Linked DNA regions of Homo sapiens: all the other regions are linked to region 2. The links are contacts of gene promoters, found by promoter capture Hi-C in human tissues and cell types (Jung and others, 2019). All regions are on one chromosome and are shown on one strand. The core of a region is centred on a gene start or on the middle of the fragment in contact, and the rest is flanking DNA. Distances in the headings are between cores, read along the strand shown.

Region 1 (4,205 bases), core at 1,225-3,724, 520 kb after region 2:
GCAGCCCCTCAGATACTTCCTGATCACAGCCTGTGGGGGCACAGCGGCTGCAGTAACCCACCTACAGACAGTCTCTCAAGGGTCAGTTCCAGTCGCAAGTCTGGGCAGTAAACCCACGTTAACGGTGGAGGGGAGGCACATCAGAACCTAAGGGGGTCCCGGAATCTGGGAACAGCAACACCAGTATCCACCGCACTGTCTATGGCATCTCTCATGTCAATTTTGACCAAAGTGGAGGAGTGCTCTCTAATTAATCCTCAGACCACTCTGCTTCTACCTCAGGGCCTTTGCACCTCTCATTTCCTGGAATTCTCTTTCTGGCCTGTTATGTGGCCACCTCCTTATTATTTTGATGCAGGCTTAAATATAATTGCTTTAGAAAACCTTCTTTCGACATTCTAACCAAAGAATCTTCCCATCCTAGTTACTCTCTTCTTATCCTATTTTTTCGTGGCACTTACTACTATCCAAAGGTATCAGTGCACTATCTATCTTCTCCCCAACTGGAGTATAAATCCCTAGAGGGCAAGAACATTGCTATTCTATTCAATGCTGCATCCCTGCTTCCACACACTGTGCTTGGCGCGTGCCGGATGCCCATAAATATTGACTAAATGAATAAAGTCAGGTGAATGACACTTGTGAATCAGGTTTTTGTCCTCTCCCTATTTTGCCCACCTGCTTCATCATGGAAATATGGGAGTAGGGCAGGGGGACAGTATCCAGGGTAAATGTTTTAGGAAAACTTAACACATATACTTTGAAAATTGGAAGTACTTCACACCTAGGAATATGCAGATACACATATGAAACCAATACACTTATGAAAAGGCTGGGCAACTTCCTTAGTTATTGGGGAAATACAAACTGTAGTCACAATGCCATCCAACTGCACACCAACCAGAAGGGCTTACATGAAAATTACTGAATGTGAACAAGGATGTGGAACCACCAGAATTCTCATGCACCAGTGCTTCTCCAGCGCTACATGGTGACAGACCAGCCTTTCTTTCCTTTTAAATTTCCGTTGCAGACCAAAACACATGGTCCCCATTGCACGTGAAGCTCCTCCCACACCCGCCTCATAATGCAAGTGTGACAGTATCCAAACTGGTCAATGCACTGCTGGACGAGAAGAGCCTATGTATTTGTATGTCAAAGCAACATCAAATTTCTATAAAAGTTTCTAAATGCTGACGCTTAATTTCTGAACTTATCTCGTTGCAGTCTAATAACAAATAGCTCATAGTCCACACTCTGAGGGACACTGCTGTCCCTGGAGGTAGGAATGTGAATTGGCATGTCCACTTTGGCAGTATTCACTAAAGTTGAACATACTCTTACCTTGTGACCCAGAAACTTCACTGCAAGGTACATGCCCAACTTCAAGTTGTATACATTGCACCAGAAGAAATACTCAAAAATGTTTACAGCAGGACTATTTATGAGAGACCCAAACTGAAAATAACTGAACATTACTAGAAAACATTATAGACCAATATCCTTCATAAAGAGAGACATAAAACCCTTTTAAAAATAAAAAAGCAAAGCAAATCCAACATATGTACGATATACTGTGACTAAGTGGGATTTATACCTGAAATGCAAAATAGGTTTAACATTTGAAAATAGTATAACTTGCTAAATTAATAAAATAAAGCATTTGACAAAATTCAAAATCAATTCATGATAACAACTTCACGTGCACTAAAAATAGAATGATTTTGATTTGACTTACTTCCCCAATTTGATATTCGACATGTATGAATTTGACGTAGGCCTCATATGAATACTTAGAGCCAACATCATACTCAGTGGTTGAACACTTCACTTCTAAAATGGAGAACAAAGCAAGGATATTCATTTTCACCATTTCCCTTCAACAGTGTACTAGAATCTCTAGCTAATGCACAAGGAAGAAGAAAAGAAATAAAAGCCATATGGATTGGAAAGAAAGATGTAAAACAACTTTTATTATCAGTTGACAGGATTATTTATGCAGCAAATCCTGATGAGTGTACAAAACAACTTCAAAAACTAATAAGCCAATTTAGAAAATCCGAACAATACAAACTCAGTATACAAAAGTCAGTCATGCGGCCAGGTGCAGTGGCTCACGCCTGTAATCCCAGCACTTTGGGAGGCCAAGGTGAGTGGATCACCAGAGATCAGGGGTTTGAGACCAGCCTGGCCAACATGGTGAAACCCCATCTCTACTAAAAATACAAAAATTAGCCAGGCATGGTGGCACACACCTGTAATCCCAGCTACTCAGGAGGCTGAGGCAGGAGAATCGCTTGAACCCAGGAGGCGGAGGTCGTGCCACTGCACTCCAGCCCGGGCAACAGAATGAGACTCCGTCTCAAAAAAAAAAAAAGTCAATTGTGTTTGTATATATCACCTTGAAACACATAAAATTCATAGGAATAGATTTAACAAACGACAGTCATGACCTCTAAACTGAAAACAACAAAAATAGTACCGAGGGAAATTAAAGAAAAATAAAATAAATGGAGAAGGATCTTGTTCATGGATTGGGAGACTCACTTGTGTTGTTATTTTCTTTCCATACTCTTCTTTTTTTAGATTTTATTTTAATGTGGTAAGAACACTTAAAAGGAGATCTACCCTCTCAACAAATTTTTAAGTGTACAATATATTATTGTTGACTAGATATAATGTTATACATTTATACATCAAAACTTTATGCTTACTGATTAGTAATTCCCATCCCCCAAACTCTCGCCTCTAGTAACCATCATTCCACTCTTTGATTCTATGAGATTCACTATTTTAGCTACCTCATATACATGGAATCATGGAGTATTTGTCTTTCTGTGACAGGCTTCTCTCACTTAGCAAAATGTCAAGTTTCATTCATGTTGTCACGTATATCAGAATTTCCTTCTTTATTAAGACGGAGTAATATTTTGTTGTATGTATATACCACATTTCCTTTATCCATTCACCTGACAAAGGACATTTAGGCTGTTTCCTTACCTTGGATACTGTGAATAGTGCTTTAATGAACTGAGAAGTGTTTGTATCTCCTCAGGACCCCAGTTTCAAGTCTTTTGGATAAATACCCAGATCTGAAGCTGTAAAACTCCTAGAAGGAAACAAAGGGGAGAAGCTTCATGACATTGATTTTGGCAATGACATCAGAAGCACGGGCAGCGAAAGACAAAATAAACAACTGAGATTATATCAAACTAAAAACCTGCACAGCAAAGGAAACAATCAATGGAGTAAAAAGGCAACCTATGGAATGGGGGGAAATATGTGCAAACCATTTATCTGGTAAAGGGTTAATCTCTAAAATATATAAGAAACTCCTACAACTCGACAGGGAAAAAAAGAACAATAGTCTAATTTAAAAACGGGCTAAGGACTTGAATAGACATTTCTCCAAAGAAGACATGCCTATGTCAAATCAGCATATGAAAAAAGATCATCGAACTCAAGACTAATGGCTGAATGTCACTAGTCATCAGGAAAATGTAAATCAAAATCACAATGAAATATCACCTCACACCTATCAGGATGGCCTTTACAAAAAAAAAAAAAAAAAAAGGCAACAAGTGCTGGTGAGGACGTGGAGAAATTGGGACCCTTACACACTGTTGGCAGGGGTGCAAAATGGTGCAGCCACTATGGGACACTATATGGGGCTCCTCAAAAAAAATTAAAAATAGAACTACCATATAATCCAGCAATCCCACTTCTGGATATGTATTCAAAAGATTTGAAATAAATGTTGTTAATGTCAGTGCTCTCCCAAATTGCTCCATAGATTCAATGTAGTCCTAATCAAAATCCCAGAAATTTCTTTTTGTCATAATTGGCAAGTTGATTTTAAATTTTATTGAAATGCAAAGAACCTAAAAATAGCTAACACTCTCTTGAAATGGAAAGTGTTGAAAGACTCACAGTTTGCAATTTCATGACTTATTATAAAGCTATATTAATGGACCTAGTGTGGTATTTTCAATAGGACAAACGGAGCAAGGAAACAAAATAGAGAGTCCAAAAATAGACTCACACACTATGGTCAATTGTTGTTTGACAAAAACACCATGTGACGGTTGAAGGACAGTCATATTAATCTGTGGTGCCGGAAATCAAATAGTCATCTCTAGAGGTGGGGACAGACTGGAAGGGAATTTTCTGGGGGTGCTGGAAATGTTTTGTGTTCCCACTGGAGG
Region 2 (4,291 bases), core at 1-2,500:
TCCTCCAGGGGCCTAGAAGGCCAAAAATGAAAACAAAACAAAACAACACAAAATTTTAAAAACCTCATTTACCCTTTAACTTTCATTTTTAAAATAATATTTTATAAATGCTAATTTTAAAAGTAAGCCTTTTTAGTCTAAGACTATAAGTAATCTTATAGTCCTATTATAGATTTAGAAACAGCTTAGAGAAGTATCAAACACGAAAATTCTGAGTATTAAGTTTATATTCGTCATCAGCTTTGATTTATCTCCCTTTGGGCTTCAGTTTCTTTATACATTCAAGAATATGTAAGTGGATCCCCTTCCCCAGTTCTCAAATTCCCATTTAAATGATCTTACTATTATAAGAAACAAATTCGACAGATTCCTGAAGCATTCTGATTCTGCCCATTACATCAAGCGTCCTGAATAAGAGACAGAAAATCACCACAGCTGCGTTGCAAAGACAATTCTTTCCATTTTAACTCAACTGGAAAGTATCTATTATCTATTAGTGAGCTGCTGCTTCTGGATGTTGTCTCCTTTATTTAATTTTAAAACTAATGATATAAACCCTTTTTAAGTGTCTAAGAAAAACATTAACTTTAACAGCTGCATAACTTTCATCTGTCTTACTGAAGACAAAATGGCAAGCTAACTTGACAACATTACGAGAAAGGCTTTGTGAGTTAAAAAAAGGTTACAATGGTCACATTTTTCTTGGTGTGCGTGTGAGTTGCGGTGTGTGTGTTAGTGTGTGTGTGTATACCAAGATCTTTAATAAAACCCACTTTACTACCCTCTCCCAACCCGATACTGGGAAGGAAAGATGCCTAATTAATATGAGCTCATCGGTAGGTGCTGGAGCAAAGACGCACAGGGTTTTCGGGCTCACAAGCTGAAGACACATAACAAAAAGGTCCCGGCGAGTTCGGGGAGACCGGGCCCGGTCGGAGCAGGTTGCGGCGGTCAGGGATCCACACGTCCACCTCCCACGCCCGCCCCGTGAGCTCCCAAAGCCCGCTAGCCTCAGACCCCGTTACCCTGGAAACTGGTGCCGCCCCAGGGCCTAAGACTACTCCGCAGTTTCTCCCAGCGCGACGCAAAGGGTTACCTCGAGCTCCTGGTTCTCGCACTGATCCAGCAACTTTTTGAAACTAAAGGCGCTTTCCGCCATCACCGCCACTGGCATCTTCGCGGCCGGCCTCGCCGCTGCACCGTCCGGACAGCCAAACCCCAGACTGTCCCTCAGGCGTCGCGCCCGCGATGACGTTTAAAGCCGCCGTTGCCGCCGAGCGCCCCTGCGTACCAGACCGTCAGTTCCGGGGCGCCGTCAGACATCGCTGCGGCCGGGATAGGGCGCCGCCGTTCTGGCCGGCTTTCTCGGTGCCCTGGAGGACCTGGCCGGCTCCGCGGGAAGCTGTACTCAGAGCGCGCGGCCGCCCTCTGGCAGGGAGGAGTTCGTTGCACTTTTGAGGGTTCTTCACGAAGACATCCAATACATAGAAAACAAGTAACAGCAACAGTAACGAATTTTTAAATATTAAAATTGCTGGGGAACACGACGGATCCTGCAGCTGCTCGGCTGTCCCGGTCGTCAGTGACGCTAGGGCTCCGCACCGTACCCTGCATACCGTAGGTGCTCACGAAACGTTCGTGAGTTCCCTGCTCTGAGGAAACAAGCTTAAAAACTCAGAATCTAAGGTGTGAGTCTCCGCAAACCTGCTTGTTGGGCAGCGTCCCCCGCCCGGGCTAGCCCTGCACGCCCCACCCCGGAGCCACGCTTCTCCAGCCGGGACCCCTGCCTCCTTCCAGGCTATTCTCGGAACCGCAGCCAGAGGGAATTTTTTTTTCCTTTCCTGAAACGTAGAGCAGATCTGGTTACTCTTCTGCACAACGCCCTAAAATCTAGGGCCCTTCCCATCCCTCAGAATTTACATCTAATTCTCAGCTCCCCTCCGGCTTGCTGTAGCCATCCTGGCTTTTGTTTAGCACAGCACTTACTGTTAGTGACATTATATTGTATATTATTAACATATTTGTGTTTTACATCCCTCACTAGACCCCCAGGAAAGAGGCTTTGATGTGTTGCCTGCTGCAAGGCTGGCTGCATAATTTGTGGAGCTCAGAGAAAAGTGCGGAGCTTCCTTGTTCAAAAAACAGAAAGAAAGTGCCTCTGAGGTCATAAAATATAAAACTTTCTCTTTCCTCTCAGTTTCTCTCTTTTCATAGTGTTTTTATGTGTTATTTAATATCATTCCAAGAAAAATTTAGATTTAAATTGTTAGCATGAAGTTCACCATCCATCTTTACGTTGTGCAATGCCAGTTTTAAATACTAATATAAGTGCACTGATCTCATATGTGGAATCACAGAAATTATGCAATTTGTACTTCATAGCTTATACATGCATATAGATTTTGTTTTTACCAGAACCACGCTGGTAAAAACAGATGCTGCACAAAGTGAACTTGCCCGTTTTCATCGCACTTTACGTGCACGAATTCTACCTCTACTCTCGACCTGGGACTCACCGATGCGTAAGGAAGGACTGAAAAGCAAAAGAACTATGGACTGGCCTTTTGGCATGATCAGGTGTCTAATATAAAGAAGTGCATGAATAAGAAAATATATGATATGAGTGATGGTTAATACTGACTGTCAACTTGATTGGATTGAAGGATGCAAAGTATTGATCCTGGGTGTGTCTGTGAGGGTGTTGCCAAAGGAGATTAACATTTGAGTCAGTGGGCTGGGAAAGTTCGACCCACTGTTAATCTAGATGGACACCATCTAATCAGATGCCAGTGCAGCTAGAAATGTAAAGCAGACAGAAAAATGCGAAAAGAGAGACTGGCCTAGCCTGCCAGCCTACATCTTTCTCCCACGCTGGATGCTTCCTGCCCTCGAACATCAGACTCCAAGTTCTTCAGTTTGGGACTTGGACTGGCTCTCCTTGTTCCTCAGCTTGAAGACTGCCCATTGTGGGACTTGTGATCATGTGAGTTAATACTTAATAAACTCCTCTCTCTCTCTCTATATATATATATATAAATATATATATCCTATTAGTTCTGTCCCTCTAGAGAACCATGACTCATACAATATGGTTTCTTCATGCTTCTTAAGACACCATTGCCTTCTTTCTGCCTTCGAAACAAGTTTACTCTCTTAAGGGGAAAAGTGCGGCCTTTTGGGGTGTCAGCACCCAGCTCCCTCAGTTGTAGATACAGCACGAGTACCTTGTGCTCACTTTGAGTCTTGCTGGCCTCGCAACATCAGGGGTCCACAGGGAATTCAGTGTGCATGGTGCATTATGAATGCTGTATGGAACATCAGTGGCCACACGTAGAGGCCCGTTTCCCTGGCTCATGCTCCATTGTCTTAATGGACCTCACTTACAAACCACAAGTTTACAGATAAAATTATTAAGCATTTCAAGACAGAGACAGCCATCCTTGATTTTTTTTTTTTTTTTGGCGTAATCCACAACATCTCTGTGTGGAAATGATTGTTTAGTAATTCCCTGAATGAAATGTAAAGAAAAAAAAAAACACTTGTGTGTTCCTCAAGGAACTGCCAACATTAAATAGAAGGGCACATAAGTAGTTAGCAGAACTAGAGAGATCTTGGAGTAATAAAGCAACAGAGTTTCATCCACGGCTGCAAGGAAGAGAAGGACTGAGGGCAGTATGATTCTAAGATCACTTGACAGAACTATGAGGAGCAGGATTTTGAAGCTTGTAATAATGGTCTCTAACCCTTTTCGGGCAAAGAAATATTCAATAGAAGCCCTGCTTGGCTATTTGATCATTTAAAGGGAAAACTATAATGTGAACGCTTTGGCAGGTGCTTTGGGCCTCTAAGAGGTGGAAACCTACAAAGGTGGCTGTTTGCTGAATAGGAAATCCCGGTGAGGCTTTTGATACATATCACAGGTTAGAGGTGGAGATGGGGTGTCACTTAAAGGACTAAGCTGTTCTTTGGAAGGCCAGTACAGGAATTTGGGAGTTGGAGCCTGGATGCCAGAGAGGGTAGGAGGAGAGTCCTTGGGGGGCAGAGAGGAGTCTCTGGGAGCAGTTGGGGTCTAAGGTGAGACCCTGGCCTGGACACTGGGAACTCCAAGTGGCAGTGAAGCACTGAAGCGTCTTCAGGGCTGTGATGGTTGACATTCAGTTTTAAGTTGTCACTGTACTGTGCTGGAGCCACCTTTCCCCCCAGACTTTTGATAGTAAATGAGAGAAGTGAAGGGGGACAGGAAAGAGCAGTGTGGTGTAAAAGGCTGTCATCTCCGGAGGTGCGACTCAGA
Region 3 (4,202 bases), core at 1,431-3,930, 900 kb after region 2:
CTCCCCCGGAGGACACCGGCAGGATGGTGAATGGAAGTTTCCATCCTGTGTGAGTCTTCATGTGACACCCTCACCAAAAGCCACTGCTCCAGCTCCAGGAACAGTCTGGGAAGTCAGATGCCAGGAACAGACACAGGTTGATCAAAGGGGCCTTCAGCTCAGCCTGAGCGTCACATGCCAACAGAGATGCTCTAGACAACAAGGACTATATCAACCTTGTCTTATTTTCTCTATTCCATATATATATACACCTTGGGGTAGAGGGTGGTTCCCACAAAATGGTGCATCTCTCTCCAGTGCACTTATCTGGGATCAGTTAGCCATAGAAAAGCCTGCTTGTCCCATCAGTGTCTGGCTAGGAAGAAAACGTATGTTGGTTCCACGTGCCCAGATATATATATGCCAGAATCTCACTCTGTCACCCAGGCTGGAGTGCAGTGGTGCAATCATAGCTCACTGCAGCCTCGACCTTCTTGGCTCAAGTGATCTCCTGCCTCAGCCTCCCATGTAGCTGGGACTACAGGTGCACACCACTGCACTGGGATCATTTTTTCTATTTTATATAGATGATGGGATCTCGCATGTTGCCCAGGCTCTAATTCCTGGCCTCACGTAATCCTCCTGCCTCTGCCTCCTGAGTAGCTGGAATTGCAGGAGTGAGCCCCCTCCCCCAGCTTACTTTCTCTATTCAGATGCTTTGACATCTGGGGCCTTGCTGACCCAGGAGGAACTGACTGCCCCCCACCCACCAGGCTTAGCTGGTTCTTAGCAACAGTAAACAATTCCACACAAAGCATGCTTTTCCAATGTTAGCCAACCAATCTGGAGCCCAGAGCCCACACCTCAACCACCTCTTATATCCCACTCTTTCTCACATGCCAGACCACTGTCTACTCCAGAGCAAGTGCCACACAACTTGGGAAAGTCCTATGCCCCAGAGTCTGCTGAAATTATCCAAACTAGACAAACTTCAGCCTTGCCCTCTCTTGCCCATTCCTCCCCTGCCTCCTGAAAGACCCTGGGGCTTCCTCATGGGCTGCCCCCATGTCATAGCATACCCTCTCCTCTTAGGAACAATGATCAATAAAACACCTTTTCAATAGCAGTCATCTCCTGATCTGTTGGCCCTATGAGACATCAAATTTTCTATGAATACACTGTATTTTAAAGCAAAGACTCTTCATGTTCATCCTCCAAGGACAAGCAGTGGCTCTCTTTTTTCCATTACAGCCAGCGCAAGGTGCTGCCCCAATGAACCTCAGAGGAGACACTCCCTCTGTATTGGTCTGTTTTGCATCACTCTAAAGGAACAGCTGAGGCCGGGCAATTTATAAAGAAAAGAGGTTTATTCAGCTCACAGTTCTGCAGGCTGTACAAGAAGCATTGTGCCAGCATGTGCTTTTGGTGAGGCCTTTCAAGAAGCTTTTACTCATGGCAGAAAATGAAAGGGAGCCAGTGTGTCACATGGCAAGAGAGGGACAAGGGAGAGCGAAGGAGGTGCTGGGCTTTTTAACAATCAGTTCCCAAGTGTACTAATCCAGCAAGAACTGACTCAATACTGCAGGGAGGTCACCAAGGCCCTGTGACCCAAACGCCTCTCATGAGGCCCTACCTGCAATGCTGGGGATCAAACTTCAACATGGGATTAGGAGGGAACAAATATACAAACCATACCACCCTCCCATTGGTAGAATCTGGAAAGGGAATTCAGACCCCAGCAAATAACTGCAGGGTGAGGTGGGATGTTATATGCACCATAAGTAAAGCCCATCATGGAGTGAAAGGGGGGCCCAGGCAGAGCCCAGGAAGTGAGGATGGACATCATGAAGGAGTTAGCCAGGGTGCACCTTGGTGGACAATCAAGTTTTAACACAGTGGACCTGCCCAGGGAGTGATAAGACAGCATCCCCCAGCTCCATCAGCTGACCCACCTTCACCCACCCTTTGAGATGGACAATTGATCTGTCCTACAAAAGGGCTACGTAAACCCAGCTTCAAGACCCCTCAGATCCCCATCCCAGGCAGATGACTCTCCCCAAGCCTCTCCTACATAGACTTTCAGGAGTTACCACTGCCTCCAAAGGAAAACTTGAATGAAGGCAGGTGTGCAGGGAAGTACAGGGTTCCATGGAGGGATAGTGATTTATCCTCCTGGCTAGGAGGATCCCCATGCTTTGGCAGCTGGAAGGAGGCAAGGCTAGAGAAGGTGGGGGCAGATCAGGAGGTACTTGGCTTCCAGACCAAGTATTCTGAACTTCACTGGACAGGCTGTGAGGAACCACGAAGCAAGTGAGCAGGTTTGGTCTCAGTGGGACTCTAGGAAGATTGCTTTGTCCTGGAAAGGGAAGCAATACACTGGAAGATGAGTAGCAGCCCAAGGTAACACCTTAGAGATAGGTTCAGAGCTTCTCCACTGACCAAGAACAATGACTTAACTGAAATTGGTTCAATTTGCTTACCTGGGAAGTGAACATATCTGCGCCTCTCTCACTTACTTAGGAATTAGTAAGATGTCTGGTGTAAGGCAGGTCTTCACCAAATTTGAAGGGATCTTGTTGAAATGCAGATTCAGACTCTAGAGGTTTGGAGTGGGGCCCAGATTCTGTGGCTCCAAGCATTTGGATGTTTCTGTTAACCTTGGATCCTGATCTGCAGGCCCCACTGAGCAGAGAAACTGCAAAAACCCAGGCCCAGAGCCCAACCCAGAGAAAGAACTTGATAAATGGTTCCTTCTGTTATTAGGATTGTTTTATCATTAGAAAAAGAAAACAGCCCAATATTAAGATAGAGACTGTAAAAAATGGGGAAAAAAATAGCAAATTTTTTTTTTTTTTTTTTTTTTTGAGACAAGGTCTCACTCTGTCACCTAGGCCAGAGTGCAGTGGCTTGAATGTGGCTTACTGCAGCCTCGACCTTCTGCACTCAAGGGATCCTGCTGCCTCAGTCTCCCATGCAGCTGGGACTACAGGTGCACACCATCAATTTTTTTATTTTTTGTAGAGATGGGGTCTCGCTTTGTTGCCCAGACTGGTCTTGAGCTCCTGGGCTCAGTAATCTGCCTGCCTTAGCCTCCCAAAGTGCTGAGATTACAGACATGAATCACCATGCCCAGCCAGCAATGTTATTTAAATAGCAAGGGTAAGAACAGTAAGAAATACAGCCACCATGGCCTCTAAGGAGCACAGTCCTCATTGAATTCTGAAAATGGAAATATGCCTGTCTTCTAAGACTATACCCTCCAGCCACCCCTTCCACCCCACCCTACTATAGAAAACAGTTTGGCTGACTTTCTAAAATTTTAAATATGTATTTAAGAGTCCTGGAAGAAGGCAGAGCTCTTTTAAAACATACTGACGATCGAGACCATCCTGGCTAACATGGCAAAACCCAGTCTCTACTAAAAATACAAAAAATTAGCCTGGCATGGTGGCATATGCTTGTAATCCCAGCTACTCGGGAGGCTGAGGCAGGAGAATCACTTGAATCCGGGAAGTGGAGGTTGCAGTGAGCTGAGATTGCATCACTGCACTCCAGCCTGGGTGACGGAGGGAGACTCCATCTCAAAAAAAAAAAAAAAAAAAAAAAATACTGACTTGGCCAAGCATGGTGGCTCCTGCCTGTAATCCCAGCACTGTGGGAGGCCAAGGCGGGTGGATGACCTGAGGTCAGGAGTTCGAGACCAGCCGCTGACCAACGTGGCAAAACCCCGTCTCTACTAAAAATACAAAAATTAGCTGGACACAGTGGCAGTTGCCTGTAATCCCAGCTCCTTGAGAGGCTGAGGCAGGAGAATCACTTGAACCTGGGTGGTGGAGGTTGCAGTGAGCCGAGACTGCACCACTGTACTCCACCCTGGGTGACAGAGCAAGACTCTGTTTAAATAAATAAATAAATGAAAACATACTGACTTTACACTTCTAAAAATCTAATAAATAATAATCAATTATTAGGTTTCCAAAAGCTTATTTTTCCCCAAATTGCAGCTTAAAAACAGCAACACGATTCTCACAGTGATCCCCAAAGGTCCCCCCATAGCTGCCTGAAGTTTTGCCAACATGGAGGACTTATTTCTTTTTCATTATTTTCACCCCTAAGAATTTTTAAATTCAGATGCTCCGGGGAAGAGTTAATCCATGAAGTTCCTTTGGAATAAACCATTCACTCATTTGTTGATTTATTTTTAATTTTTTTTTTTTTTTTTA
Region 4 (4,146 bases), core at 1,353-3,852, 710 kb after region 2:
TGCTGAGGCCGTTGCTCCTGCCGCGGAAGGAATGAGAGCAGTGAGGCCCAGTCTCAGGAAGGGCGGTGTCCTTTCTCAGAGCTTCATGGGCCCAGCTTCAGTGCAGGACGAATGAATTCAAGTGTTCATTTTTAACTTGAAGTGGCCTGAAAGTACTTTAACACTGAAAATAAATAGTACGTAGGTTTTCAAATATTATCAAGGAATTTAATTAAAATCCCTAATAATGTGGGAAGTAATTTTGAATGTATATTTTTCTTCCCATAGGTCTTATTAATGGATCAACACCTGTCGCTCCACTGTTGGGGGTTCCCTCCCCTCTCCCTTGGTCCTGTCGCTCCCCTGTTTGGGGGTTCCCTCCCCTCTCCCTTGGTCCTGTCGCTCCCCTGTTTGGAGGTTCCCTCCCCTCTCCCTTGGTCCTGTCGCTCCCCTGTTTGGGGGTTCCCTCCCCTCTCCCTTGGTCCTGTCGCTCCCCTGTTTGGGGGTTCCCTCCCCTCTCCCTTGGTCCTGTCGCTCCCCTGTTTGGGGGTTCCCTCCCCTCTCCCTTGGTCCTGTCGCTCCCCTGTTTGGGGGTTCCCTCCCCTCTCCCTTGGTCCTGTCGCTCCCCTGTTTGGGGGTTCCCTCCCCTCTCCCTTGGTCCTGTCGCTCCCCTGTTTGGGGGTTCCCTCCCCTCTCCCTTGGTCCTGTCGCTCCCCTGTTTGGGGGTTCCCTCCCCTCTCCCTTGGTCCTGTCGCTCCCCTGTTTGGGGGTTCCCTCCCCTCTCCCTTGGTCCTGTCGCTCCCCTGTTTGGGGGTTCCCTCCCCTCTCCCTTGGTCCTGTCGCTCCCCTGTTTGGGGGTTCCCTCCCCTCTCCCTTGGTCCTGTCGCTCCCCTGTTTGGGGGTTCCCTCCCCTTGGTCCTGTCGCTCCCCTGTTTGGGGGTTCCCTCCCCTTGGTCCTGTCACTCTTCTGTTTGGGGGTTCCCTCCGCTTCCCTTAGTCCTGTCGCTACCCTGTTTGGGGGTTCCTGCTTCTCCCTGTGTCCCAGCATTACTCTCCCCAAACTCTGTTGGAGGGAAGCTCAGTGAGGGAGAAAGCCCTGCCTAGAGCTCTCTGCGGGGGGAAGAGGAGGGCAGAGCACCCAGAGGGGCACTGGGCATCTGTGGCCTCCAGGGAGGCCAGAACACTGCCGCGGCCCTGGCAAGCAGCCCCTGGAAACACAGTCGGGGGAGTGTGGGTTTCTGCTCTCTAGAGAAATGGCTGTCACGGGACATCCATAGGGGGAGGGGCTGCAGGTTTCTCCACTCAAGGCTGCATTGTTTGAGAAGCAGTTCCAGGTCGAGATGCTGTGGCTGACTGCTGCCGAAGAAGCAGCTGGTCAGCGTTTTGAGTCTCAGGTGCCCCAGTTCCTGGGGAGGCACACATCTGTCCATGCGTAAACACCGGCACCTCCTGGGGCAGATTTGGGGGGCAGAGGGGCCTCGGAGTCCCATCCCTTGAGGAGGGTGCAGCCCATGCTCACACACTGTGCCACGGTGTCTTCTAGCTTTTTTTTTTTTTTTTTTGAGACGGAGTCTCGCTGTTTCGCCCAGGCTGGAGAGAACTTGCGCCATCTCAGCTCACTGCAACCTGTGCCTCTGGTGTTCAAGCGATTCTCCTGCCTCAGCCTCCTGAGTAGCTGGGATTACAGTTGCCCACCACCAGGCCCAGCTAATTTTTTTGTATTTTTAGTAGAGATGGGGTTTCACCATGTTGGCCAGCCTGGCTTGAACTCCTGACTTCAAATGATCCGCCCACCCTAGCCTCCCAAAGTGCTAGGATTACAGGTGTGAGCCATCACACCTAGCCTCAGACCTTCTTAATATCATTTGTTCGATTGTTAGAGAATCTTCTTCAAATTTATGTTAATATTTTATGCGTATATTGTTTATATTAAATAAGTATTCAAGTTAAAACACTACAGTTGATACTTCCTTGATATATATGGGTCAAATATTGCTATCCTAAATTCCACTAAATTAAATATTTCTTAACTTTCAGCAGAGGGCATACTACTTTAAATGTTTGATGCAATACAACTCCAGTCATCCAAAGACTAGGGTCATTGGATTAACATTTCCCCGAATAGTATTTGGCTTGGGTCTAACTGATATTCTTGGGTATCTTTTAATCACACTAACTTGGATCACAGGACAGTCAGAAGAACTGTCTAAATAAAGTTGTATTTACAATTCTCAACTTAGAGAAAGACCAGAGTAGGATGGGAGAATAAAGAAGAGGAAAAGACAAAACATCTCGAAGGATTATACTGAATAATATTTGAGTTTAACCTATCTAATTTCTGCAAGCCAAACCCCAGCAAGTATCATTGGGAGTTTCATCCGTTATGTGGGATACTATGTCCATTTTTTTCTCAATTAGTATAAATTACCAATGTGCTGGCTATATGCTCAAGGTCCTTTTAGAGAAGTGGTTTTGACATCTGTAAACACTCTGTAAAGTATAACACCCTCCTAAAAAATCATCACCCTCATTGCTTTAGACGTTTTATCTTCCATATAAGAATTATCTTCAGTATAAGTCTTTGTTCTTTGTAGATGTTTCTTTCAAACAATTGTGCAATTGGGTTAAAAGGAAACATAAATTTCACAAAGGATTAATGATGTACTACAGCTTGAAGATGCTAGCCGAATATATAATTATAGGTCCATTGCATTACTATTATTGGGTAATTTCTAATTCATATTTGTGCCATCATGAAGACTGATGGAAGGGCAGACTGCAGGAGTTAGAGCTGGTCCCAGACGCCCAAAGATATCGTTCTTATTAATGGGAAACATCAGATACACACATGGATGAGTGAAAGTATTGTTTTTAAAAAGCCTAATTTATCCCCAAATTGTAGAAACACTTCAAAAATCCTTTTATTTGCATATGAACAAATGTACTTTGAAATAGATCTGGTTTAAGTTCTCCGCGTATGTGATCATTAACAGAAATACCGCCGATTTCTGTGTGTGTGCCTCTGGAACAGACACTCTGCTTTCTCCCCAGGACCATCGAGTCTCTGTATAAGGAACTGGTGGAAGAAGGATTACTGATCCAGGCTCTGAAAGTCAACCTCTCTGATTACATTGGTGAGTACACAGAGAATAATACATGTATGTGTCACGTGTCACCTCTTGTGTTTTGAAATCCCAGCAGCCGGAAATATGTTTTATTTACATTTTTGTTCAAGCCAAAACCTGGCCGATGGTGGCTCCTGGTAAATGTTTGTTGGATTGAATTGATTCAAATAACCTAAGAGGATGCTGTGGACTAACAGATTCTCTTAATAAAATGGTTGCAGCTCTCTCCCCTAACGTAATAGAAGCAGGTTTTTAACCTACTAGCAAGGTTCCTTGGTGCATTCTTTCTGGCATAATCTGATTTAAGGAAATGGGGAATTGTTAATGATTTCACTTGTAAAAAATGCACCTGGGGCAGCACCTAAGGCCTCCACAACAGAATCCTTACTGGAGGAATTCTTTCCAAAAGATACCTTCCAATAGAGACACAAATATTGGGGAGGAATGAGGTGGGGACATTTGTTATCACAGCCTCACCTAATGGTTTTCTCTAAATTTTTAAAAAACACCATGATGACCTGAAAACACACTTAAAGCTTAAAATTCCTCATAACTGTACTACCGTAATGCAGTTATTAGTTTTACTTTTATGAAGAAATTACCCCCAATGAATGACAACATTCTCCTACATAACCACAGAAGGAAAATCACTCAGAAAATCAAATGCAATACTGTTACCTAATATACAGTGAACCTTCAGCTTTCCCAATTGTCCTGATAATGTCCTGTATAAATACTTGTCTTTCTCCATCCAAAATCCAGCCAAGGATGGTGCAAGTGATTGTTGTGTCTCTTCTGTCTCCCGTAATTCCTTCCGTCAGGAACAGTTTCCCAGCCTTCCGCCATCTTTCACAACACTGACATTTTTGAAGAGTCTGAGCTGTGCACAGACTGTCTCTCAATTGAATGTGTGTCATGGTTTTCTCATTATTCGATTCAGGTTAAACATTTTGACAGGAAAATGATGGTGTCTCCCTGTCAGTGTTTCCCACTGGGGGCACTTAATGCCACTTTGTCCCATCAGTGGTGAGGTTAAGTTTAA
Region 5 (4,253 bases), core at 641-3,140, 540 kb after region 2:
CTTGTCTGCTAGAATAACTCTCACTCATTTGCTTTGAAAATATATGTCCAAGTAGCACCTCACCTGGGAAGATTCCCTGATTTCTTCCTAAGTTCGGTAAAGCATTGATTGCACCCAACTGTCATTGCTTTATTTCCCAGTCTTCCACAATGAATTTGTAGTCCTGGAGGGCAAGAGCCACATTCTTTGTAGCCTTGACATTTATCACAGGGCCCGCATATAGAATGTATTGTACAAGTAGTAACTAATGGATGCTGTTTAGAACAAAATCTGTACCACTCCTTCCTAACCCAAAACATGTGTAAATAGGATTATAAGATTCATGCTGCCAATTTGGTTTGATGGTATAAAAGACCCAAGAGATAGTCCACATGCTGTCGGATAATTATTGAGTCAAAGCTATTTGGAAAATTTTCCAACTTGTTTTTTTAGGCAGTGTGCCTCTACATAAAGAGGGGTAGTAATTTTGAAGAGAGGGGGTCCCAGTCTCCTGCAATTGCTGGTGTAAATGAGTGGCACAAAGGCAGACACAGATGGGGACATACAGCCCAGGGCGCCCACCACTGGCCACGCCGTCTCCTGGACGGACCTCTGGAGACTGGTTATGAGGTTGTTCTTAGCTGGATTCCATCATAATGCTCTACATGATATTGCAAATTAATACAGTGTCCCCAGGCAAGTCTGTCTACAGCAGGGAGATGTCGGTCCCTAAAATGACTGCCTCAGTCAGGATGAGCCCTTCCTCTTCCCACACAGCAACAGCACATTATGAAAAGTCAACTGCTACCTTGCCTCCCTACCAGCAGAAAGGTCATGTCCAGTGATGTGCTGGTGTTTAACAATCTGCTCCTTGAGGGGGAAAAAAGCTTTAATTTTTAGCTCTTGCCAATGTCTATAGCGTAAAAACTCCCATCTTGGCTGATTGGAAAATATCAACATGATGTCACTGAACATGGGCTTGGGAAGAGACAGTGCAATCTGTCTCTTGTTAGGCCCTAAATTTTCATCACCAAGAGGTCCATCACTAAGGTGGAGGCACATCTCCCTGCTGTAGACAGACTTGACTGAGCATACTGTATTAACTTGCAGTAGCATACAGAGCATTATGGTGGCATCCAGCTGAATTTGTAGATTGTTTATGTGTTGTTTTAGTTCGTTCTCATGCTGCTAATAAAGACATACTCAAGACTGTGTAATTTATAAGGAAAAAAAAAAGAGGTTTAATAGACTCACAGTTCCACATGGCTGGAGAGGCCTCACAATCATGGCAGAAGGTGAAAGAGGAGCAAAGTCACATCTTACGTGGTGGCAGACAACAGAGCATGTGCAGGGGAACTCCCATTTATAAAACCATCAGATCTTATGAGACTTATTCACTACCAGGAGAACAGTATGGAGTAAACTACCACCATAATTCAATTATCTCCACCTGGCCCCACCCTTGACATTGGGATTATTACAATTCAAGGTGAGATTTGGGTGGGGACACAGCCAAACCATATCATTTTTATACCCACTATACAGGCGTTAAGTGTACGTGGTCCCTGCTGTGTACGTGGTTCTGTGCTAAGTCAAACAAAACACGGAGCAGCAGGTCTGTGCTAGGACACAGGCAACCCGTTACTCTCAATAAAGTACCAAATAAGAAGTACTGACCCTTGGGAGATTTTCTTTATAATAATATGACTCAATCATTTTGACTTAGATGCACATTTCTGAGAAGGAGAGAAAGAGGTGGAATCCCAGTTCTTGGACAGGGGAATTCTTTAGAAACTTGAATAAGGCTATGGGAGTGTGTCAGACGAGGGATGTTTCATGAACCACACGTTCTTTGGTATTTAAAAAAGGCTGAAATTCCTGGTATTAACACATAACCACTGGCATTTGTCTGTTGTGGTAACATTTTTGGAGCAAAAGTAGAAAAAGACTGAAAGTTAAGAAATTAGAAATGCAAAGTAAGCTTTATTTTTAAGAACTTTCAACAACTTATACTTTTATAATCTTATACGATTATTGCAGAGAGGAAGGGAAAATACATGTTTTCTACAGTGATATCAGGTAAGGATAGCCAGTCAATGCTTTTTTATAGATTAGCCCAGAGACAGGGTCAGAAACAGATCCAAGCCACTACAGGTACCAATGTAAAAATGTAGAGATGCTAGCAAGGAGCTGTGCAGTAAGATGTCCCCAGTTGTCTTGGCTTGGATTCTGCCAGAAAGTGGAGTAATCTATAACAGGTATTTGGGTACAAGTGATTTAAATACTTACTATAAAGTTACAATAATCACGACTGTGTGCTATTGTGTAAAGACAGATGTGCAAATTCATGGAGCAGGATAGACCCTAGAAACAGGCACACACATACATGATTGATCAATTTCCCACAAAGACACCAATGCGATCAATGAGGAAAGGGTGGTCTCTTCAGTAAATGGAGGAAAAATGTGGATAACCACGTGAGGAAAAAAATGAACCTCAACCCTTATTTTGCACCACACATTAAATTCATTCCAAATGGATCCTAGATGTAAATGTAAAAGATTAAATTATATAACTTATATAAGGAAATAAATGTTCTGTGACCTTGAGGCAGGAAGATTTCTTAGAACATGAAAAACACTAAACATTAATGTAAAAAATGACAAATTTGAGTTAATCAAAGTAAAACCTGCTGCTTTTCAAAAGACACCTATAAAAATGAAGAGGCAAGTCAGAGACTGGAGAAAGATATCTGCAAAGGGCTGGTGTCCAGAATATAGAAAGAACCCGTATAACTCAATAAGAAGACACATAACCTAACAAAAAAAAAAACAGACAAAAGACGAACACAAAATTTATTTACATACATGAATGGTCATTAAGCAAATGAAAAGATTTTCAACTGAATTATCATCAGAGAAACACAAATTAGAACCACAATTCTTAGACACTATTTTACAATTACTACAATAACTAAATAAAAACACAGACAACGTCGAGTGTTGGCAAGAATGAGGAACAAGTGGAATACTCACATATTGCTGGCCACAGTGTAAAATGGTACAGCCATTTTGGAAAACTGTTTTGCAGTTTCCTATAAAGTTAAATGTACACTTACTATATGATACAGTTGGCTGTGTCCCCACCCAAATCTCACCTTGAAATGTAATAATCCTCCTGTGTCAAGGACGGGGCAAGGTGGAGATAGTTGAATCATGGGAGCAGTTTTCCCCATTCTGTTCTCATGGTAGTGAATAAATCTCATGAGATCTGATGGTTTTATAAATGGGAGTTCCCCTGCACATGCTCTCTTGCCTGTTGCCATGTAAGACGTCCCTTTGCATCTCCTTTGCCTTCCTCCATGATTGTAAGGCCTCTCCAGCCATGTAGAACTGTGAGTCAGTTAAATCTCTTTCCTTTATAAATTACCCAGTCTCAGAAATGTCTTTATTAGCATCATGAGAACAGACTAATACAATATAAGATCCAGCAATTATACTATTAGGTATTTACCCAAGAAAAATGAAAATAATGGCTGGATGTGGTGGCTCATGCCTGTAATTCCAGCACTTTGGGAGGCCAAGGCGGATGCTCATGCCTATAATCCTAGCATTTTGGGAGGCTGAGGCAGGTGGATCACTTGAGGTTAGGAGTTCGAGACCAGCCAGGGCAACATGGTGAAACCCTACCTCTACTAAAAATACAAAAACTAGCCAGGCGTGGTAGTGAACACCTGTAATCCCAGCTGCTAGGGAGGCTGAGGCAGGAGAATTGCTTGAACCCAGGAGGCAGAGGTTCCAGTGAGCCGAGATCGCACCACTGCACTCCAGCCTGGGTGACAGAGTGAGACTCTGTCTAAAAAACAAAAAAAAAAAAAAAAAAGAAAAGAAAAATGAAAATAATGTTTACACAAAGAGAGAGAGAGAGAGAGAGACACACACACACACACAAATGTGTCTATCAAAACTCATAGAAGTATTATTCACAATAGACAAGAACTGGAAACAACCCAAAGGCCCATCCAGACGTGATAATAAACTGTAGTATTTTCTTACAGTAGAATACTACTCAATAATAAAAAGGAACAAACTACAATAGAGGCAGCAACAGGGATGAATCTCAAAATAATATACCAAGTAAAAGAAGCAAGACACAAAAGAAGGCATACTGCATCATTCCAGCTACATGAAGTCCTAGAACCTGAGAGCACAATCTATAGCCCTGACCAGAAAGGTGAGCCAACACAGCCTGTCCGCGCCTACTTTGCCCTGAGC
Region 6 (4,727 bases), core at 1,639-4,138, 670 kb after region 2:
AACATTGTGTTCAAAGCTCCGGGCATGACTGCGGCTGGCCGACTGAAGGCAGTGGTTCCTTTCACATGCTCGGCTCCTGCACTGTGACCCGCAGTGGTTCTTCCGTCTGCCTCCATTTGTCTTCATCCCTTTCTTTAACCACGTTCCACTGATGTTCACTGAATGAACAAAAGAAGAGACCCCTTACTGCTCATTTGGGGCACAACCCAATTCACTGGCAGTAGATGCTGAGTTGGGCCCCTTGGATACCCCTTTCAGGACCAAGGCACTCAAGCACCTGGCTCCCCACATGACAGTGCTGACACTCACAGCTAAATCCCACCCCAGGAATTGCTCCAGTCTAAGGGAGCCACTACAGGCGAGGTTACACCACTTCTGGGGCAGCTGCATCCAAGGACAGTCACGTGATAGTACCAAAGCCCAGCCCCCTCACCTTGCCTGGACAACTCCAAGGGTTCTCCCAGCTTCTGTTGCTCCCTTTGGGATTAGCTGATAGCTCTCTTGCAATTGCATCATAACTTAGCTTCTCCCTCTGCCCAGGGCTGCTTCCCTCCCTCTCTTCCTTCTGGGTGGTGTTCCCAGTAGACCACCTACATCCATCTCCATCTGAGTGTTTCCAGGGAACCCGATCTGGGAGACCACCTAGGGCCCTATTGTTCTGCCTATACCCCAGAAGTTCTAGCTTGTTCTGGAAAAAAAAAGCCCCCTGAATACAGTTAATTTTAAAAATCATACTCTTACTCTGCGAGACAATTTTGAAGAAGTGCCTAAGAATAAAGAGAATTGGAAGCATTCCAATTTTATTCTAAGAATCTCTTCCTCTAAATATGCACAAGGGAGTTTTATACTTGCAAATTAAAAATTCGCTGTTAGTGAAGCTTGTTCCGTGTAAATCTGAAATTACCAGCTACACAATCTGGTCTTTGTTGGGTGAAAGTATTTTATTAACTAGCTATTAAAGAGTCACTTAACGATGAACAGTTTTGAACAAAAAGCAAAGTTTAAGAACATCAGCATTTATGAAATGCTTGCAAATGAAGGGGAAACGCCTTCAGAATCAGAAATGAAGTTTTTCATGAAAAATGCAGATCTGCATAGTGACAATGTGATTATTAAAAGAAGAAATGGTCATCTCTAATAAAAATTGATATATTTAAGTTATGCTGCTACCCTTTCCAGAGACTTTTAAAAGTCTTACTCTGGTATCAACCCTAGAGTACCTCAAACCATTCCTGAGACCAGTTATTCAAATCCTTTTGTGAGAACTGACATTTTGACTTATAGCAAAAGGCACTATAATTCCTCATGGTTAGAGGGCAAGGGAGAAGAGAGAGGAAAATAGTTGTGTCTAACTTGTCTGGACGCTGGCTTATCCCAGCCCTCACAGGGCCCAGCTGCATGATTGTTCTTTCACTATTTTGACAAGACCACATATCAATTGCCAGTTCTATATGCATAATTGGAAAACTTGAAAAGACCTCATGTTTTAATTGAAATATTAATATGTTAGTTGAAATATTCAGATAGGATTAGATAGGATAATCCTATCTGAATATTTCAACTAACCTCTTTAAATGGAAAATAGGTTATTTTCTGAATGTCACACAGGTAGAGAGCTAAAAGCTTTACATGTCCATGAGATCGTTACAAATTAACATAAATATGAAAAAATCTATTATAAGTGCAAAAAAAGTCATGAGAACTGCTGAATGTTTCGGTTGAATTTCACAATGAATCAGTGTTTCTGTGTGAATTTCCAATTTATTGCAGGGCTAGTGGAGTGAGAAAGAGCAGGATTGTCATGGTGGATCTCTGTAATTGTACACAAGACCATTTTAGAATAAAATATCTTGTGATTAATAATCTTGCCTGCATTTGATCTTTTCATCAAGAAACTTGGTGAAACAGTTTAATGTTTAAAATATGAACGTTCGCAGTTCCTTATTTGGATCCATCTGGAGCCCCTCCATACTGAGATACTGAAAGACAGAAGAAAACAGAACATTCTGGGATGTTCGTCTTCAGCTCAGGGCTAGTGGAAGAGAAAACACAAAAGCACAGTAGTCCTGCCCAGTGGCTCACACCTGTAATCCCAGCACTTTGGGAGGCTTGGTCAGGAGGATCACTTGAGGCCAGGAGTTGGCACCCAGCCTGGGCAACACAGCGAGACCCCATCTGTACTAAAAACAAAAAAAGAAGCGCAATAAATACATTCAAATAAGAGGTTCTAAAAATTAGTCTCTCATTCATAGGCAACAAAATGAATCTCTAGGTAAACTTCACACCTTACACAAGTATTAAACTCAAAATCGGTCATGGACTTAAACATAAAACTATGAAGCTTTGAGATTAAAACATAGGAAAAACATCCTCAGAATCTAGAGCTAGGCAAAGAGGTCTTAGACTGGACACCAGAAGCAGGATCCATAAAAGGGAAAATGTATAAATTGGGCCTCATCAAAATCAGAAACTGTTGCTCTCTGAAAGACCCAGTGAAGAGGATGAAAAAAAAGCTATGGATGGGAGAAAATATTTGCAAACTATCTATCTGAAAAGGATTAGCACCTAGAATATATACAGAACTCTCAAAAAAAATAGTCTTTCTTTTGAGTTCTCAGTTTTAAATCCAGAATTGTTGTGGACTGCAGTTAAGGAATGCTCTGTGGAAAGCACTTTAACAGAAGACAATGCTAGTGCCAGGAGGACATTTTCTGCTAACTGATAGCAGTCCTGCAAAGGTGCTTTCAATACCAAAGTAATCGCCTTTGTCTCACAGTTGTGTGGCCCTCACATTGGCTTTAGAAACAAAAGTCGCAGTAATAGAGCACTATGCAATCATCCTTACAACTGTTTCCTCTGTTATTTTTCAAGCCACATGTTAGACCATTTGGAATGATTTAAAGTGGTATTGACCTGTCATAACATGATCACATGAACATTAATGAGTCTTCTCTAAATGCACTCCAGCCTCAAAATGCTTTAACTTAGTGCTAACTTCTTCTGGAAAGACCCTTGGACCTTTATACAGCACAATTCACATTGAAAACATTTGTTTATCTGCAGTGCCAGCAGACCTAACTCTGACCACAGCTCCTCCTCTCCAATCCCTTGGCCCAAAGAGGTGCTCCAAATTGAACCATTAAGCCAACCACATTCTTAGGTTATTTTAGAACATTTCAAACCAAATTTTGCATGACTTTACAAAAATGGACAAGTGAATGTCATGCATTTCCAAAGGAAGTTATCAGGAATGAGGGTGCCATCAAGGAAATGTATGTCTGGAGCATCTTCTGTGCCCACTGAAATACAATAAGAGAAGAAGATGGAAAGAAGTGAGAGGTTGGCTTGTGGGTGACAGAGATAATAGAGTCCTTAGCCTAGGGAACAGGGACCCCATGGTTAAACACCCTGCAGTTGTTTGTAAACTTTCATGGGAAGGAACATTCTCTGGGGAAAAGGTGTGTGGACTTTCTTCATGTTTTCAAGAGGTCCCTTTTATAAAAAGCTCAAAAATCACTGCTTAGAGAAAGGATATATTTGGTTACACAGGCAAAGGGCCAATGGAGGCACTGCAGACTCAAAGGAGAGTGATGATCTTAGGCACCAGAGTGGCAGGGGAGGCTTCATGAGGGATATGGAATGGCAGGAGACTCTTTCAGGAGCCTACGCTCACAGCCCAAGTCTGCCCACATCTCCCCATCTCCACGGCAACCACCTGACCAAGAGGCATCATTGCCTCTCACAGCTGCAACTATACCAGCCTCCCAGCCAGTGCCCCCACCTCCTCTCCTGCCATTCTACAGCCTATTCCCCTACAGCAGCTAGAGTGACCCAAACTCTGATCGGCATCTCTGACAGCTCTTGGAACTCAAGAGCTATGCAGTAATTATTTTTGAAGACATGAATAAATGCTCAGATGAAGATCTGCCCTTGGGTGAAAGTACTGGATATAAAAAGATGAAATAGACGCAAGAGACATCTCGAAGGATGCAAGAGATACCACAAAGGATGACTTGCCTGGCTGACAGCGTGTGGAAGAAACAGGAGACCAAGGAATTGAAGTGAACTCCAGGTATCTTGAGTGGAACAGAGGTAAGATTAAGAACAGATGGACCGGCTGGCTTTAGAGCTATTGAGTCAAACCATTGTCTATGGTTCAACAGCTGGAAGTTCAGGACAAACTCAGGAGAGATAAAGACCAGTGGTGCGGATCAGGACATATCCCTGCACAGGAAAACTCTAGTTGAAGGTGGGGCACGGATGAGGTATAGGAAAATTCATGTGAATGGAGGCTGGAGAATCTGGATTACAGCCACATATTGAGGCAGCAGGAAGAGCTAAAACCAACTGGGGGATGGGAACAGCATGGAAGGCAGGAAGAAATCCAGCACCATGAACTTCCTATATAGTCTTCCAACTGGGAATTTCTGGAAGGATAAAAGGAAGGTTTTCTTTCTGCCTCCTGAGTCCCTCTGCCATGAGAAGTGAGAATTGGCTGGGCGCAGTGGCCCACGCCTATAATCCAGCACTTGGGGAGGCCATGATGGAAGGATCACTTGAATCCAGAAGTTCGAGACCAGCCTGGGCAACATAGGGAGACCCCCATCCCTACAAACAATTTTTTTTTCTTTTTTTTTTATTATTATACTTTAAGTTTTAGGGTACATATGCACAATGTGCAGGTTAGTTACATATGTATACATGTGGCATGCTGGTGCGCTGCACCC

The links. Contacts are between HindIII fragments. The study calls those that stand out against the background at their distance.
Region 1: a contact is called between a fragment that was not itself captured here and the fragment with the promoter of COPS8 in region 2, in 1 of the 25 tissues and cell types used here (lymphoblastoid cells).
Region 3: a fragment that was not itself captured here is called in contact with the fragment with the promoter of COPS8 in region 2 in 1 of the 25 tissues and cell types used here (H1 embryonic stem cells).
Region 4: a contact is called between a fragment that was not itself captured here and the fragment with the promoter of COPS8 in region 2, in 3 of the 25 tissues and cell types used here (heart left ventricle, lymphoblastoid cells and mesendoderm cells).
Region 5: a fragment that was not itself captured here is called in contact with the fragment with the promoter of COPS8 in region 2 in 2 of the 25 tissues and cell types used here (mesendoderm cells and thymus).
Region 6: a fragment that was not itself captured here is called in contact with the fragment with the promoter of COPS8 in region 2 in 1 of the 25 tissues and cell types used here (dorsolateral prefrontal cortex).

What each region holds. Positions count from the first base shown.
Region 1 is chr2:236,559,685-236,563,889 of GRCh38, reverse strand. It overlaps a transcript of ACKR3 not described here. Among named protein-coding and RNA genes, the nearest start is that of ACKR3, 8.0 kb to the left of the region's middle. The HindIII fragment of the contact is 7,257 bases long and covers 1-4,205 here.
Region 2 is chr2:237,082,848-237,087,138 of GRCh38, reverse strand. It overlaps COPS8 (COP9 signalosome subunit 8), which reads right to left and starts at 1,250. Exons shown (of 8, transcript NM_006710.5): 1 at 1,097-1,250; 2 at 1-12. The coding sequence starts at 1,174. COPS8-DT (COPS8 divergent transcript) reads left to right here and starts at 1,318. Exons shown (of 3, transcript NR_187934.1): 1 at 1,318-2,983. RefSeq lists enhancers at 415-1,309, 1,120-1,669, 1,310-2,204. The HindIII fragment of the contact is 6,775 bases long and covers 41-4,291 here.
Region 3 is chr2:236,189,011-236,193,212 of GRCh38, reverse strand. All of the region lies in intron 1 of GBX2-AS1 (GBX2 and ASB18 antisense RNA 1), which reads right to left. Among named protein-coding and RNA genes, the nearest start is that of GBX2, 23 kb to the right of the region's middle. The HindIII fragment of the contact is 5,443 bases long and covers 1-4,202 here.
Region 4 is chr2:236,376,070-236,380,215 of GRCh38, reverse strand. DRC11 (dynein regulatory complex subunit 11) reads left to right here. Exons shown (of 19, transcript NM_024726.5): 13 at 3,031-3,113. Among named protein-coding and RNA genes, the nearest start is that of IQCA1-AS1, 13 kb to the left of the region's middle. The HindIII fragment of the contact is 4,498 bases long and covers 354-4,146 here.
Region 5 is chr2:236,538,915-236,543,167 of GRCh38, reverse strand. It overlaps a transcript of ACKR3 not described here. Among named protein-coding and RNA genes, the nearest start is that of ACKR3, 29 kb to the left of the region's middle. The HindIII fragment of the contact is 4,922 bases long and covers 1-4,253 here.
Region 6 is chr2:236,411,961-236,416,687 of GRCh38, reverse strand. All of the region lies in intron 8 of DRC11 (dynein regulatory complex subunit 11), which reads left to right. Among named protein-coding and RNA genes, the nearest start is that of IQCA1-AS1, 23 kb to the right of the region's middle. The HindIII fragment of the contact is 3,273 bases long and covers 1,252-4,524 here.